2 separate regions of the Homo sapiens genome follow, and region 2 is linked to region 1. Evidence: promoter capture Hi-C in human tissues and cell types (Jung and others, 2019). All regions are on one chromosome and are shown on one strand. The core of a region is centred on a gene start or on the middle of the fragment in contact, and the rest is flanking DNA. Distances in the headings are between cores, read along the strand shown. Region 1 holds the start of SNX32 (sorting nexin 32). Region 2 holds the start of CAPN1 (calpain 1).

Region 1 (7,463 bases), core at 1,569-4,068:
AGGCAGAGGTTGCAGTGAGCCGAGATTGCGCCACTGCACACTCCAACCTGGGCAACAGAGCAAGACTGTCTCAAAAAAAAAAAAGAAAAAAGAAAAAGAAAGAAAGAAAGAAAGAAAAGAAAAGAAAAGAAAAGGAAATAATGAAGGACATACCAACAAACACAATCACCATTATGGCACGTGGCTTCTTATGTTTTTTCTCACTTCTTTCTTATCTCCTCTCTTGCTTTTGTCACTTGGGAGCCCTTCATTCTTCAGGCTCCTCTTTCAGAAATTTTGCCCACTTCAGTCTGCACCTTCTTCCACAACTCTCAAAATCTACCCTTTATCCTGCTGCAATTCTCCATCTCATAGACCCCATTTAGTGTCAGACTAAATCCTTCTAGCCCATCCTCCATCCTTTTCTCAAACATTTCCCTATGAGCTCCCAGTCACACCTTTTCTCCCAATATCCAAGTGTCCTCTGTCAACACATTACCAAGTCTTCTCTTTCTCCTCCATATGTTCCCACTTCCCTCTGAACCAGAGACTCCTCTTTGCTTCCTTTGATCCTGGCCTCCGCCTTCAGCCCCAGAAGCTCTTTTCCTCACTTCCACTCTCTTTTATTTTAGGCTCAGACTCTCTCCTTTCCTTTCTCAACTTTACCCCTTCAGTGTCAATAATGTTCTGTCTGGCTCTAATTTCTCCTCTGACTTTCAGTACTTCTCCTGTCTGCCTCTTTCCTTCTTTGGTGTCAATCCTTCATCTGCCTCATTCACTGGTACCTTCACCTATAATATCTTTTTTTTCCATAGAAACAGATTCATCAGTGATATCTTTCACTTCACTCAAGATGCCCCCCTCAACTCCCACTCCTTTCTCAGTCCCTTGTAGTTCCTCACTCCCTTTGACACTTTCAAAAGGAATTTCCATCTCATCATGAGTAAATGCCATCACTCTTTCATCGCCAGTAACTTCTACCACTTTTTCAATGTTCTTCTCATTTATGCTCCCCATTCTTGAACCCTCCAATTTCTCCCCGCTGGTCCCTAACTTCTCCTCACTAGATCTCAGCTTCTCCGCACTTGACCCCAGCTTCTCTCCACTCAACCTCAGCTTCTCTCTGCTTGATCTCAGCTTCTCTCCACTGGTTCCCAGCTTCTCTCTGCTTGATCTCAGCTTCTCTCCACTCAACCTCAGCTTCTCATCACTTGTTCCCAGCTTCTCTCCACTCAATCTCAGCTTCTCTCTGCTTGATCTTAGCTTCTCTCCACTCAACCTCAGCTTCTCTCTGCTTGATCTTAGCTTCTCTCCACTCAACCTCAGCTTCTCATCACTGGTTCCCAGCTTCTCTCCACTCAACCTCAGCTTCTCTCTGCTTGATCTCAGCTTCTCTCCACTCAACCTCAGCTTCTCTCCACTCAACCTCAGCTTCTCATCACTGGTTCCCAGCTTCTCTCCACTCAACCTCAGCTTCTCTCTGATTGATCTCAGCATCTCTCCACTCAACCTCAGCTTCTCATCACTGGTTCCCAGCTTCTCTCCACTAGTTCCCAGCTTCTCTCCACTCCATCTCAGCTTCTCTCTACTTGATCTCAAATTCTCTCCACTTGATCTCAGCTTTCTGCCACTGGACCTCAGCTTCACTCCACTGGACCCCTGCTTCTCTCCCCTGCACACCAGCTTCTCACTAGTAGACCTCAGCTTCTCTACACTTGATCTCATCTTGTCTACACTAGACCTCAACCCCTTCTCATCCTGTCCCAGTTTATATCCATTGGATCTCAAGTCCTCTCCACTGGTCCCTACCTTCTCCCCAGCAGACCTCAACCTCTCTTCAAACCCAGACCCCTTCATAGGCCCTGCTGTCATCCCTGCACTCTTAGATTTAGCCTTTATTTCGTGTTTGACCTCTTGCTTTCCCCAAATACCCCTTGGGCTGTCTTTCCCCAAATCTGCTGAAGCTTGTGATGCACTTGCTCCACGGTATAGCAGCTTCACATCCATCCTTTCCTGACTCGGGCCTGACTTCCCTTTCAAGACCGTCTTTTCCACATCTTCCAGTCTCCAGTACTCAGACTCCAGCTTCGGCTTTCGAGTGTTTCTAGTCAGGAGCTCCACTCTCTTCCCAATTACCATGAGCCCGTTCCAAGGTCCCCAGGTTTTCTCTCGCAGCATCGGCACCCCCTTGCAGCCCCGCTCCAGTGGCGACCGTTCGCGGACCCCGGCCTCGCTTGGGGCGCCCTGGCCGCGGGACTTGTGGAGCTCCCTAGTCCTCCTAGGCTGCTTACCCCGCCGCTCCCTCCCGTCCAAGAGCGGAAACCTAAACAGACCCCCCTTCTCCACAGACATTGTCCCCTGCCCTCGCCCCTGGTCCACCACCCACATCCCCACCACTGCTTCCCATTCCCTGTCCCCACCCTGCCACCCTCACCCTCTTCCCCTTCCCCTTCCCCTTCCCCACTGCCTGGTGGGCGCCAAACTGGGCGAGTGCGCACGCGCAGGCCGCACGTGGCCGTTGGAAGGAGGGGCCCGGAACGGCGGCACGGGGTTGTTGTGGGGGTCAGTCCCCCGGGGACTGGAGGGAGACGCGGCACGCGGCCTCTGCGACCCTATGAACTCTGACCCCAGCTCCCACACTGTCGCCTATCACCGGCCCACTCTCCGTGCCGCGTGTCCCTTAAAAGCTGGGGCCTGGGACAGGAACGACAGACAATGCAGCCAATGGCGTCACGCGCGGTGCCCCGCTACCCAATCGAAAGGCGTGGCTGAGGGAAACGCGGTGGGAACCGCCCCCGACTCCAGGCGACTCCTTGGCCGGGCGGGGGAGAGCGTCCCCGTCAGCTGAGAGCATCCTCACTCGGTCAGTTCCTCGGGCGAGTTACGGGGACGACCTGCGGGAGCACGCGGGCAGTGGCCGGACGCTGAAGCCCAGGAGAGCGATGGAGACGTATGCGGAGGTTGGGAAGGAGGGCAAGGTAGAGAAAGGATGAAGACCCCCACCCCAGCCTCCCCTCACTCCATGAAAGCCCGTGATGCCCAATCATGCGGTGGTGTGTGTGTGTCTGTGTGTGTGTGGTCTGCCTCTGTGTGTTTCTGTGTGTGTCTGTGTGTGTATAGTCTGCATGTGTCTGTTTCTCTGTGTGTCTGTGTGTATGTCGATGTGCCTGCATATGTCTGTGTGTGTGTGTATCTGTGTATGTCTGTATTTGTGTCTCTGTGTGTCTGTGTGTCTGTGTGTGTCTCAGTGTGTGTCTGTGTCTTTGTGTGTCTCTGTGTATCTGTGTGTGTGTCTGTGTGTCTCCGTGTCTCTGTGTGTGTGTGTATGGCCTGTGTGTGTCTGTGTGTGTGCACGTATGCGTCCATGTGGGTGTTTGTGCGTGCATGTCTGTGTCTGTCTCTGTGTGTGTCTGTGCATGTCTGTGTGTGTGTGTCTGTGTGTCTGTGTCTGTGTATGGTCTGCGTGTGTCTTTGTGTCTGTGTCTGTCTGTGTGTATGGTCTGCATGTGTGCATGTATGCATCTGTGTGTGTCTCTGTGTGTATCTGTGTGTGCACGCATGTGCCTGTGTGTGTCTGCGCAGGTCTGTGTCTCTTTGTGTCTGAGTGTGTGTCTGTCTCTGTGTCTATGTATGGTCTGCGTGCATCTTTATGTCTGTGTGTGTGTGTCTCTGTGTGTGTGTATGGTCTGCGTGTGTCTGTGTGTGTGTGTCTGTGTATTTCTGGGTCTGTGTGTGTGTTTGCATGTGTCTGTGTGTGTCTGTATCCGTGTGTCTTTGTATATCTGTGTGTGTCTATGTCAGTGTGTCTGTGTGTGCATCTGTGTGTGTCTGTGTGCCTGTGTATGATCTGTGTATGTCGTTGTGTGTGTCTGTGTGTGTGTTTCTCTGTGCCTGTGTGTTTGTGTGTGTCTGTGTATCTGTGTGTGTTTCTATGTGTGTCTGTGTGTGCGTGTGTCTGTGTTTGTCTCGTGTGTCTGTGTGTGTGTATGTGCCCATGTGTCTCTGTGTGTATGTGTGTGTCTGCGCAAGTGAGAGAAAGGAGACTTGAGCAAGGGAGTGGGGAGCCTCTGTGGCACCTGTGTGCGGACTGATGAGGATGCCAAGGGAGGCAGGGTTTTGCCTTTGTCCTTACAGATGGAAAGGGACCCGTCACTGTCACTCTTACCCTCCCCAAGACCAACTCAGGCTGTCTTGATGGGGGTAGGTGGGTAGGGGGTGGGAGGTGAGGGCGGGGAGGAGGGCAGGATGTTAGGGATTGAGCAGAGGCTGGCATCCTCTTCTCCTTTCCCAAGGCGAGAGAATCCTGTTCAGCCCTAATGGCTTCACTTGTGTTCTGAGTTCATGTAATGATAAGACCATTTCTTCCTTTTGACTTCCTTCAGCAAAGAGTTGTCGAGCATCCACGTTGTGCCAAGGATGGTTAGAGCATGGAGAGGTGCACCCTTTTGGGAGATGGAGGCATATGCATAGTGGGCCGTGGCTGAGGATGAGGATGGAGCAGCTGTGGTCCACCTTTGAGGCCCATCTCCCTCAAGCAGCTACCAAGCAGTGTAGGTCAGAGTAGAGATACTAAGGCAGGAGGAAAGAGGCTGGGGACTAGGGGACCTGCTGCACCAGTTAGCCAGACTGCATGTGTTTGGGGTCTGGGGCAAGGGGAGAGCCTGCCTTGGGAGTGTCAGAGAAGCCAAGAAATGAGGAGCGGGGTTCAAGTGGTTTAGAGGGGCAAGAGGGGCTGAGAGACACAAAGCATGGAACAGAATGGTCTGCTTCAATGTTTATCTATGTATGTTCATCTTCATGGTTAAAGGAGTTAACATATATAAAATGCTTAGGGCATATACATGAAATGGTTAGAGTGGTGCCTAGCATATTGTAAGGGCCAACATAAGGGTTAGCTATTATATTATTATTATTGTTATATTATTTTTGCTGTATGTTCTGAGGATGTGCTGAGCTATTGAACAGATGGATGCACCCCCCAGCCTTTGCAGGAGCCATACTCTGAAAGTTCACTACCAGTACTTATCCTCTAGGTTAGGTGTTGCCTTCTCTAAGATCTTCCTTTAAATATAGAGACATTAAAAGAATATATAAGCAAAAATATAATAGAGGAGAAAATGAAATAATATAAAATACTGGCCAGGCGTGGTGGCTCAAGCCTGTAATCGCAGCACTCTGGGAGGCCAAAGCAGGCAAATCACTTGAGGTCAGGAATTCAAGACTAGCCTGGCCAACATGGTGAAACCCCATCTCTACTAAAAATACAAAAAATTGGCCAGACGTGGTGGTGCGCACCTGTAATCCCAACTACTTGGGAGACTGAGACAGGAGAATAGCTTGAACCCAGGAGGCAAAGGTTGCAGTGAGCCAAGATCGCACCATTGAACTCTAGCCTGGGCAACAGAGCGAGAATCTGTCTCAAAAATAAATAAATAAACCCAGAGGATTATAAATAATTATACTATAAAGACACATGCACACGTGTTTGTTGCAGCACTATTTACAATAGCAAAGACTTGGAACCAACCCAAATGCCCATCAATGATAGACTGGATAGAGAAAATGTGGCACATATACACTATGGAATATTATGTAGCCATAAAAAAGAATATCATGTCCTTTCCAGGGACCTGGATGAAGCTGGAAGCCATCATTCTCAGCAAACTAATACAGGAACATAAAACCAAACACCACACGTTCTTACTCATAAGTGGGAGTTGAACAATGAGAACACATGGACACAGGGAGGGGAACAATACACACTGTGGCCTGTGGGGGGCTGGGGGGTAAGGGGAGGGACAGCATTAGGACAAATACCTAATGCATGTGGGGCTTAAAACCTAGATGACGGGTTGATAGGTGCAGCAAACCAGTATGGCACATGTATACCTGTGTAACAAACCTGCACATTCTGTAAATGTATCCCAGAACTTAAAGTAAAATTTAAAAATTAAAATAAACAAATAAAAGAAATAATATAAAATACTATTTAAATAATCCAAAAGAGGACAAGAAAGAAAGAATACAGGAATAAAAACAGATGGGACAAAGAGAAAGCAAAAAGCAAGATGACAAGTTGGTAGCCTGCTACATCAGTAATTACAATGATTATGAATGGACTAAATTCTCCAATTTAAAAAAATATTGTCAGATTGTATTTTGGAAAAAAAACAACTAGAGTTTGTTAAAAGAGACATATTTTAAATATAAGGACACAGAAGGGTTGACATAAATGGGTGGGAGCTGGGCATAGTGATGCACACCTGTGGTCCCAGCTATGTGGGAGGCAGAGGTAGGAGGATTGCTTGAGCTCAGGATTGTTTGAGGTTACAGTGAGCTGTGATTGTGTCACTGCACTCCAACCTGGGACACAGAGTAAGACCTTGTCTTTAAAACAAAACAAAACCAAAAAAGGGCCAGGCACAGTGGCTCACACCTGTAATCCCAGCATTTTGGGAGGTCAAGGTGGGCAGATCACTTGAGGTCAGGAGTTCGAGACCAGCCTGGCCAACAGAGCGGACCCCCATCTCTACTAAAAATACAAAAATTAGCTGGGCATGGTGCCACACATCTGTAATCCCCACTACTCAGGAGGCTGAGGCAGGAGAATGGCTTGAGCCCGGGAGATGGAGGTTCCAGTGAGCCAAGATCTCGCCACTGTACTCCATCCTGGGCAACAGGGCAAGACTCTCTCAAAAAAAAAAAAAAAAAAAACGAAGAAGAAGAAGTATATTAGAAATAAAGAAGGATGGCTGGGTGCGGTGGCTCACGCCTGTAATGCCAGCACTTTGAGAGGCCAAGGTGGGTAGATCACCTGAGGTCAGGAGTTTGAGACCAGCCTGGCCAACATGGTGAAACCCCGTCTCTACTAAAAATACAAAAATTAGCCAGGTGTACTGGCAGGCACCTGTAATCCCAGCTACTCGGGAGGCTGAGGTAGGAGAATCACTTGAACCTGGGAGGCGGAGGTTGCAGTGAGCCAAGATCATGCCATTTCACTCCAGCCTGGGTGACGGGAGTGAAACTCTGTCAAAAAAAGAAAGAAAGAAGGAAAGAAAGAAGGAAGGAAGGAAGGAAGAAAAGAAGGAAGGAAGGAAGGAAGGAGAAATAAAGAGGGACATTTTATAATGATGAAAGACTTGATTCCACAGAAAGGTAAAACAATCCTAAATTTATAGGCACCTAATAATATAGCATCAAAATATGCAAAATAAAAGATGACAGAACTAAAAGGAGTAATAGGCAAACCTACAATTAAATAGTAAGTAATTGTATTTATTTTTTAGAAATGGGGTCTTTTTATGTTGGCCAAGCTGGTCTCCAACTCCTGAGCTCAAGTGATCCTCCCACCTCAGCCTTCCAAAGTGCTGGAATTATAGGCATGAGTCACCATGCCCAGACCAGTTAGAAATTCTAACACAATTCTCAACAACTGTTAGAACAAGCAGACAAAAAAATTAGTAAGGATTTAGAAGATTTAAATA
Region 2 (7,176 bases), core at 4,677-7,176, 650 kb before region 1:
AGGGTCTCACCGTATTGTCCAGGCTGATCTCGAACTCCTGGGCTTAAGCGATCCACCCACTTTGGCCTCCCAAAGTGCTGGGATTTACTTTTATTTTATTCTTAGAGACAGCATCTTGCTCTATTGCCCAGGCTGGAGGGAAGTGGCACAATCATAGCTCACTGCAGCCTCCAACTGCTGGGCTCAAGCCACCCTCCCATCTCAGCCTCTGGAGTAGCTGGGATGACAGGCATGCACCACCACACCTGGCTAATTTTCTAATTTTTTTATAGATGGGGTCTCATTATGTTGCCCAGGCTAGTCTCAAACTCCTAGCCTCAATCAATCCTCCTGTCTAGGCCTCCCAAAGTGTTAGGATTATAGGAATGAGCGACCACACCCAGAACATGATTTTTTATATATGTATATGGAGAAAAATACTCCTTTAAGATGTTAATTGTAAATGTTTTCTTCAGTCCATCATTTTGACATAACTGTATGGATTTTTAATGTAGTAAAAAATGCAATTTTATGACTTTTGGGTTTTGTGTCATAGTTAAAAAGACTGTTTCCACACTGAGATGATACAAAAAGTTTCTCCTTTAGCTCCTGGCTGTATTTTTTTTTTTTTTTTTTTGAGATGGAGTTTTGCTCTTGTTGCCCAGGCTGGAGTGCAATGGTGCGATCTCCACTCACCGCAACCTCCGCCTCCATCTCCCGGGTTCAAGCAATTCTTGTGCCTCAGTCTCCCAAGTAGCTGGGATTGCTGGTGTGTGCCACCATGCCCAGCTGATTTTTGTATATTTAGTAGAGATAGGGTTTCACGATGTTGGCCAGGCTGGTCTTGAACACCTGACCTCAAGTGATCCACCCACCTCAGCCTCCCAAAGTGCTAGGATTACAGGCATGAGCCACCGTGCCCAGCCAGCTTCTGGCTGTATTTTCGTTTTCATTTTTGTACGTTTAAATATTGAAGGTTAACATTTAATTTTTATTTTTATTTATTTATTTTTTTTGAGACGTTGTCTCACTCTGTCGCCGAGGCTGGAGTGCAGTGGCGCAATCTTGGCTCACTGCAAGCTCTGCCTCCTGGGTTCACGCCATTCTCCTGCCTCAGCCTCCCAAGTGGCTGGGACTACAGGCGCCCGCCACCACGCCCGGCTAATTCGTTTTGTATTTTTAGTAGAGATGGGGTTTCACCGTGTTAGCCAGGATGGTCTTGATCTCCTGACCTCGTGATCCACCTGCCTCAGCCTCCCAAAGTGCTGGGATTACAGGCATGAACCACCGCGCCTGGCCTATTTTTTATTGATTTTTTAGAGATGGAGTCTTGCTTTGTTGCCCAGGCTAGAGTGCAGCGGTGCTCACTGAGGCCTTGAACCCCTAGGCTCAAGAGAGCCTCCCACCTCAGGCTCCGAAAATGCTGGGATTACAGGTGGTGTGAGATACCACACCAGACCTAGAGTTTTTATTTTTTAATTTTTAAAAAAATTTTTATTTATTTTTTTGAGACGGAGTCTCACTCTTTTGCTCAGGCTGGAGTGAAGTGGTGCAATCTCGGCTCACTGCAACCTCCGCCCCCTGGGTTCAAACAATTCTCCTGCCTCAGCCTCCCGAGTAGCTGGGATTACAAACGCCTGCCACCCACCATGCCCAGCTTTTTTTTTTTTTTTTTTTGTATTTTTAGTAGAGACGAGGTTTCACCATATTGGCCGGGCTGGTCGTGAACTCCTGACCTCAGGTGATCCATCTACCTTGGCCTCCCAAAGTGCTAGGATTACAGGTGTTAGCCACCACACCCAGCCTTTTTAAATGTTTTTTTCATTAGGAACAACATATTCCAAACCTATAAATTGAGTTCATCTGTAATTTTTTCTAAGATACAAATTATGAATCCAACTTACTTTTTTTCCAGATTGCTCCCTTTTCTTCCTAATGTCTTTTATTAACTCATCTTTTCTCAACAGATTAGAAATGGTACTTTTATCATCTACTACATTCCTGCCTGTATTTGAATCTGTTTCTAAATTTCTCTGTCTTCTATTGATCTCTATGTGTCAGTAACCCTCTTTAATTATTACCTTTTAATGATAGATTTGTTGTGTTTTAATATCTGGTAGGATTAGTCTATACTCATTATGTCTTTTATTTTCAGAAGTTTCCTACTTGTTTAATTTGCCATATGACCTTTAAATCAGCTTTTCTAGTCCCTCCTTATCTCCCACCAGAAGACTCTTAAAATTTTTCATTGTGATACACTTAGAGATTAATTTAAGGAGAATTGACATCTATATGAAGCATCTTCATATGAAGACCAAGGTGTCAGCCCCCTTGCCTCTGCTTTTTGGTGGCTAGTGACTCCCAAATTTGTACCTCTATTTTGAGCACAAGGTCTGTTCCTCACCCCTAGGAATCTCCTCTTGGATAGGGGGATCCCAAAGATACCCCATACCCTGATCCCATACTGTCCCTCCAGCTTAGTGCATTCCCCCTTCTCTTTAATCTACTCAGGTGCTCAAGCCAGATCCAGGGTCTGAAGTTGTCTTTGGTCTCTCCTGGTGTCCAAGAGCCATATCTAACCAGTGACTAAGTTCTATTTTTTTTTTTTTTTTGAGACGGAGTTTTGCTCTTGTCGCCCAGGCTGGAGTGCAATGGTGTGATCTTGGCTCACTGCAACCTCCATCTCCTGGGTTCAAGTGATTCTCCTACCTCAGCCTCCCTAGTAGTGGGGACTACAGGAGCCCACCACCACGTCCAGCTAATTTTTGTATTTTTTAGTAGAGACAGGGTTTCGCCATATTGGCCAGGCTCGTCTCTCGAACTCCTGACCTTATGTGATCCGCCCACCTCAGCCTCCTAAAGTGCTGGGATTACAGGGGTGAGCCACTGCGCTCAGCCTGTGGTATATTTGTAATCACTGATGAACCAATATTGACACAATATTATTAATTCAAGTCCATAGTTTACATTAAGGTTCACTCTTAGTGTTGTACATTCTGCAGGTTTGGATAAATGCATGTCATGCATCCGTCATTACAGTATCATACAGAATAGTTTCGCTGTGCTAAAAATGCCCTGTGCTCCATCCCTCTCCTACCCCTCTGAATCCCTGGCAACTGCTGATCTTTTTACCATTGCTAGTTTTGCCTTTTCTAGAACGTCATATAGAGTTATTGGAATCATACAGTATGCAGCTTTTTAATACCAGCCTCTTTTACTTAGCAATATGCGTTTAAGGTTATGCTATGTCTTTTTGTAGCTTGATGGCTGATTTCTTTGTATCGCTAAATTTTAAAGAAATTGCCAAACTGTCTTCCAAAGTGGTGGTGATCATTTTACCCTCTCTTGGTGTATGACAGCTCCAGTTCTTCTATATCCTTGACAACATAACAACACTTGGTATGGTTGATCTTAACTTTTAGCCATTCTAGTAGGTGTTCTTTTAGAAGCAGTCCTTCTAGTGGCTTTAATTTGCATTTCCCTAAGAGTAATGCACTCAGTGTTTTTTAATGTGCCTATTTGCCATCCAGAGATCTTTTTGGATGAAGTGTCTGTTCAAATGTTTTGTCCATTTTTTGACAGGCGCGGTGGCTCACCCTGTAATCCCAGCACCTTGGGAGGCAGAGGCGTGCAGATCACTTGAGGTCAGGAGTTTGAGACCAGCTTGGCTAACATGGTGAAACCCTGTCTCTACTAAAAATACAAAAATTAGCCTGGTGTGGTGGCGGGCGCCTGTAATCCCAGCTACTGGGGAGGCTGAGGCAGGAGAATTGCTTGAACCCAGGAGGTGGAGGTTGCAGTGAGCCAGGATCGCGCCACTGCATTCCAACCTGGGTGATGGAGCGGGACTCCATCTCAAAAACAAAAACAAACACCAGAAAACAAACAAATGTTTTGTCCATTTTTATTGGATTTTTATTCAATTGTAAAAGTTCTTTATACAAGTCCTACATCAGATAGAATTTTTACAAATATTCGTCCTAGTCTATGGCTTATCTTTTCATTTTTAATAGTTTCGTGCATTTTGAGAAACAAAAGCGTTTTATTTTGATGAAGTTCAATTTATTGATTTCTTCTATCATTTACACTTTTTGTGTCATATTTAAGAAATCTGGCCAGGTGCCAAAGCTCACACCTGTAATCCCAGCACTTTGGGAGGCTCAGGCAGGAGGACTGCTTGAGCCCAGGAGTTCATGACCAGCCTGAGTAACACAGCAGGACCCCATTTCTACAAAAAATTTAAAAATTAGCTGTGTGTCGTGGCACGTGCCTGTAGTCTCAGCTACTCAGGAGGCTGAGGTGAGAGGATCTCTTGAGCCCAGGAGTTTAAAGTTACAGTGAGCTGTGATCAGGGCACTGCACTCCTGCCTGGTCAATGAAAGCAAGACCCTGCCTTTAGAAAAGAAAAAAGAAATCTTTTCAAACCCAATATTGTTAAGATTGTCTCCATTTTTAAAAAAAAAAGTTTTATGGTTTGGCCATTTATATTTAGGTGTGTAATCCAGTTTGAGTTAAATTTTGATGGTGTATCCTAAATAGTTATCAAATCCATCTACTTCTGCCTGCCACCTCTCTAGTTTAAACCACCCTTCTCTGTCCCTGGACACCTGCGCAGAAAGCCTAGGAGCTGGTTCCACCCATCACTCACCAGGTTAGGTATTTCAGGCAAGTCACACCCTCTCAGGCCTCAGTTTTCCTCTTTTGTTAACTGAGGGTGAAAGTGGGGTTAGATTAGATCAGCGGCTCTTAACTTTTGAGGGGTCGTGGGCCCTAGAGTCCTGGGAACGCTATGCAGTTTCCTCAGCAAAATGCTTGCATCCACAACATGCAAGACTGCAGCAGCTGCTGGGCTGGGGCTGCGAGACCAGCGAAAAGCCCTGACTTGGGGGGGTCTCGGGAGTCTCTGCAGTCTCCCCACCCACACCCCCGGCCTCCGCGCCGAATCCTGGCCCCCCAACTTCTTGCAGCCCGTGAAGCAGGATCTCAGGGTCCTGGGGGTGGGGAGAGGGGGCTGCCGTCCTGCTCGCAGCCTCTGCCGCCCTCTCCTGGGTAAGGTGACACATGGGCGCTTCCAGGTGGGTGGGCTGAGAGCCTGGGGGAGAGAACAGGGATGTCCACCTCTCTAAGTTTCCAGGTTCAAGAAACCCCAGAACGTTAGAGAAAGATGGGCTCCCACAATTGCCCAACCCCATCCCATAGGATGCACGCATGCGGAAAGTCGGGCCGAACGGGGCAGGGACTTACCCAAGGTCACGCAGCGAGCCCGGTCCCCCTGCGTTCCCCGGGGAGCGCTGAGCCGGGACGCGGCGGTGGGGTGGGGAAGGGGAGTGGCGCGGCCCTGCGGGGTGAGGCTGCCGTTTGCTGAGTGTCCGGCAGGGGTCTGCTCGCTGCCAGCCCGGCCCCTCCTCAGAGCAGCTGCCGCAGCCCGAGGTAATCTCGGCCCCGCGCCGGGGCTGGCTGGGAACGGCGGGAGCAGCTGCGGTCGCGCGGAGCGAGGGGAGCTGGGGACCGGGCGGGCCCGGGGCTGCGGGAGGCGGCGCCGCCGCACAATCGCCCCGGAATGCCCGCCAGGGCGCGCGTGGGGTGCGGCCGTCCGGCCCTGCAACTCGAGCTGCTGCCCCTGGTTAAAAATACCCCCTGCCCGGCCCTCCCCCTCCGTTCCCCGCGGTGCCCTTCCGCCGCGCCCCAGCCCCCCCATCCCCCCCCGCGCTGGCCCCTCCCCGGGGACTGCTCTGCCTTTTACTAATTTGTCCTCTCGCGGAATTGGCCCCCGGCCTGCGGAGGGAGGGGCGGGGAGACACCGTGAGTAAGAGATAGTCAGAGACCGTGCCGGAGAGATAAGGGAGAGCCGAGAGGAAGCGGGGTAGGAGCCCCAGGAGGAGGAGGAGGAGAAGGAGAGAGGGAGGGCGGAGGGCGGAGGGGCGGCGGGAGGAGGGCGGGGAGGAGCGCTCTTCCTGGTTGGGCCCTGCCCTGAGCTGCCACCGGGAAGCCAGCCTCAGGGACTGCAGCGACCCCCAAACACCCCTCCCCCAGGTAAGAAGCTGGGTAGCCGAGCCGGGATTCCTTGACCCTGGCCACTGCTCCTGGGCTGAGGGGCTGCCCCAGCACGGTCCCTTCTCGGGGGCCTCTGCGTTCCTGGAGCAGGGGTGGGGGCTGGCGGAGCGGCACAGCCCAGGCGCCTGTCCCAGCCTGGCTCACCGCTGTCCCCAGGGGCTGGGCTAGGGCCCACCAGCTCTGATATCGAGCCTGCTGCGGGGGCCTGAGGAGGGGGACCCCGACCGTCTGGGGTTTTCAGCCCACGGCAAGGGGCCGGTGCACCAGGAGCTTGGTTAGTTTGGGGAGGGGGTTGCAGGCCTGTGAACAGGATCAAAGAGGCCTTCCCTGCTGTGTCCCACCTGCCCAGTTCCTTGTGCTGTCTGGAGGCTCCGCCCTGCCCCACCTGACCTGCTGGCTCACTACAGAGCTGCAAGCCCCTGACAATGGGATCCGGGAAAGGAGAGGTGGCCGGCACGCCTGGGAACTGGGAAATCCCTTTCCTGGATTCACTGGGAGCACCGGGAGGTGGCTGAGAACCCTACTTCTGTGAGGGGAGCAGTGAGGCAGGGAAACCCTAGGTTTGGGGATGGATAAGCAGGGGCAGGAGAGCAGAGCTTGCAGGCAGGAGCCCAGGTTCTAGTCTTGGGAAGGCCTGGGTTCTGAGCAGGCCCATCTGTCCGGCAGGATGTCGGAGGAGATCATCACGCCGGTGTACTGCACTGGGGTGTCAGCCCAAGTGCAGAAGCAGCGGGCCAGGGAGCTGGGCCTGGGCCGCCATGAGAATGCCATCAAGTACCTGGGCCAGGATTATGAGCAGCTGCGGGTGCGATGCCTGCAGAGTGGGACCCTCTTCCGTGATGAGGCCTTCCCCCCGGTACCCCAGAGCCTGGGTTACAAGGACCTGGGTCCCAATTCCTCCAAGACCTATGGCATCAAGTGGAAGCGTCCCACGGTGAGAGGGGCCATCCTGGGTGGGACTCGGCTAAGCCAGATCCTGGATGAGGAGTAGGGATGGGACTCCATGTCCCTGGTGGGGAATGGGGTCTGGGGTGGCCTGGTGCCAATTTCTGGGAGGGGCTGGCCGAGGAACAGGACTCTGGGTCTCTCGTAGGAACTGCTGTCAAACCCCCAGTTCATTGTGGATGGAGCTACCCGCACAGA

Evidence for each region. The method cuts DNA at HindIII sites, captures the fragments that hold promoters and counts their contacts. A contact is called where the count stands out against the background at its distance.
Region 2: the fragment with the promoter of CAPN1 here is called in contact with the fragment with the promoter of SNX32 in region 1 in 1 of the 25 tissues and cell types used here (adrenal gland).

The regions. Positions count from the first base shown.
Region 1 is chr11:65,831,145-65,838,607 of GRCh38, forward strand. SNX32 (sorting nexin 32) reads left to right here and starts at 2,819. Exons shown (of 13, transcript NM_152760.3): 1 at 2,819-2,957. The coding sequence starts at 2,922. LOC124902693 reads right to left here and starts at 2,655. Exons shown (of 7, transcript XM_047427980.1): 1 at 154-2,655. The coding sequence starts at 2,367. The coding sequence ends at 751. RefSeq lists silencers at 2,371-2,500, 2,674-2,886 and an enhancer at 2,811-2,900. The HindIII fragment of the contact is 13,089 bases long and covers 120-7,463 here.
Region 2 is chr11:65,176,002-65,183,177 of GRCh38, forward strand. CAPN1 (calpain 1) reads left to right here and starts at 5,927. Exons shown (of 22, transcript NM_005186.4): 1 at 5,927-6,012; 2 at 6,700-6,967; 3 at 7,127-7,176. The coding sequence starts at 6,701. It overlaps CAPN1-AS1 (CAPN1 antisense RNA 1), which reads right to left and starts at 5,833. Exons shown (of 2, transcript NR_145677.1): 1 at 5,224-5,833; 2 at 3,870-5,071. RefSeq lists silencers at 5,246-5,695, 6,297-6,591 and enhancers at 5,614-6,403, 6,404-7,176. The HindIII fragment of the contact is 8,891 bases long and covers 3,501-7,176 here.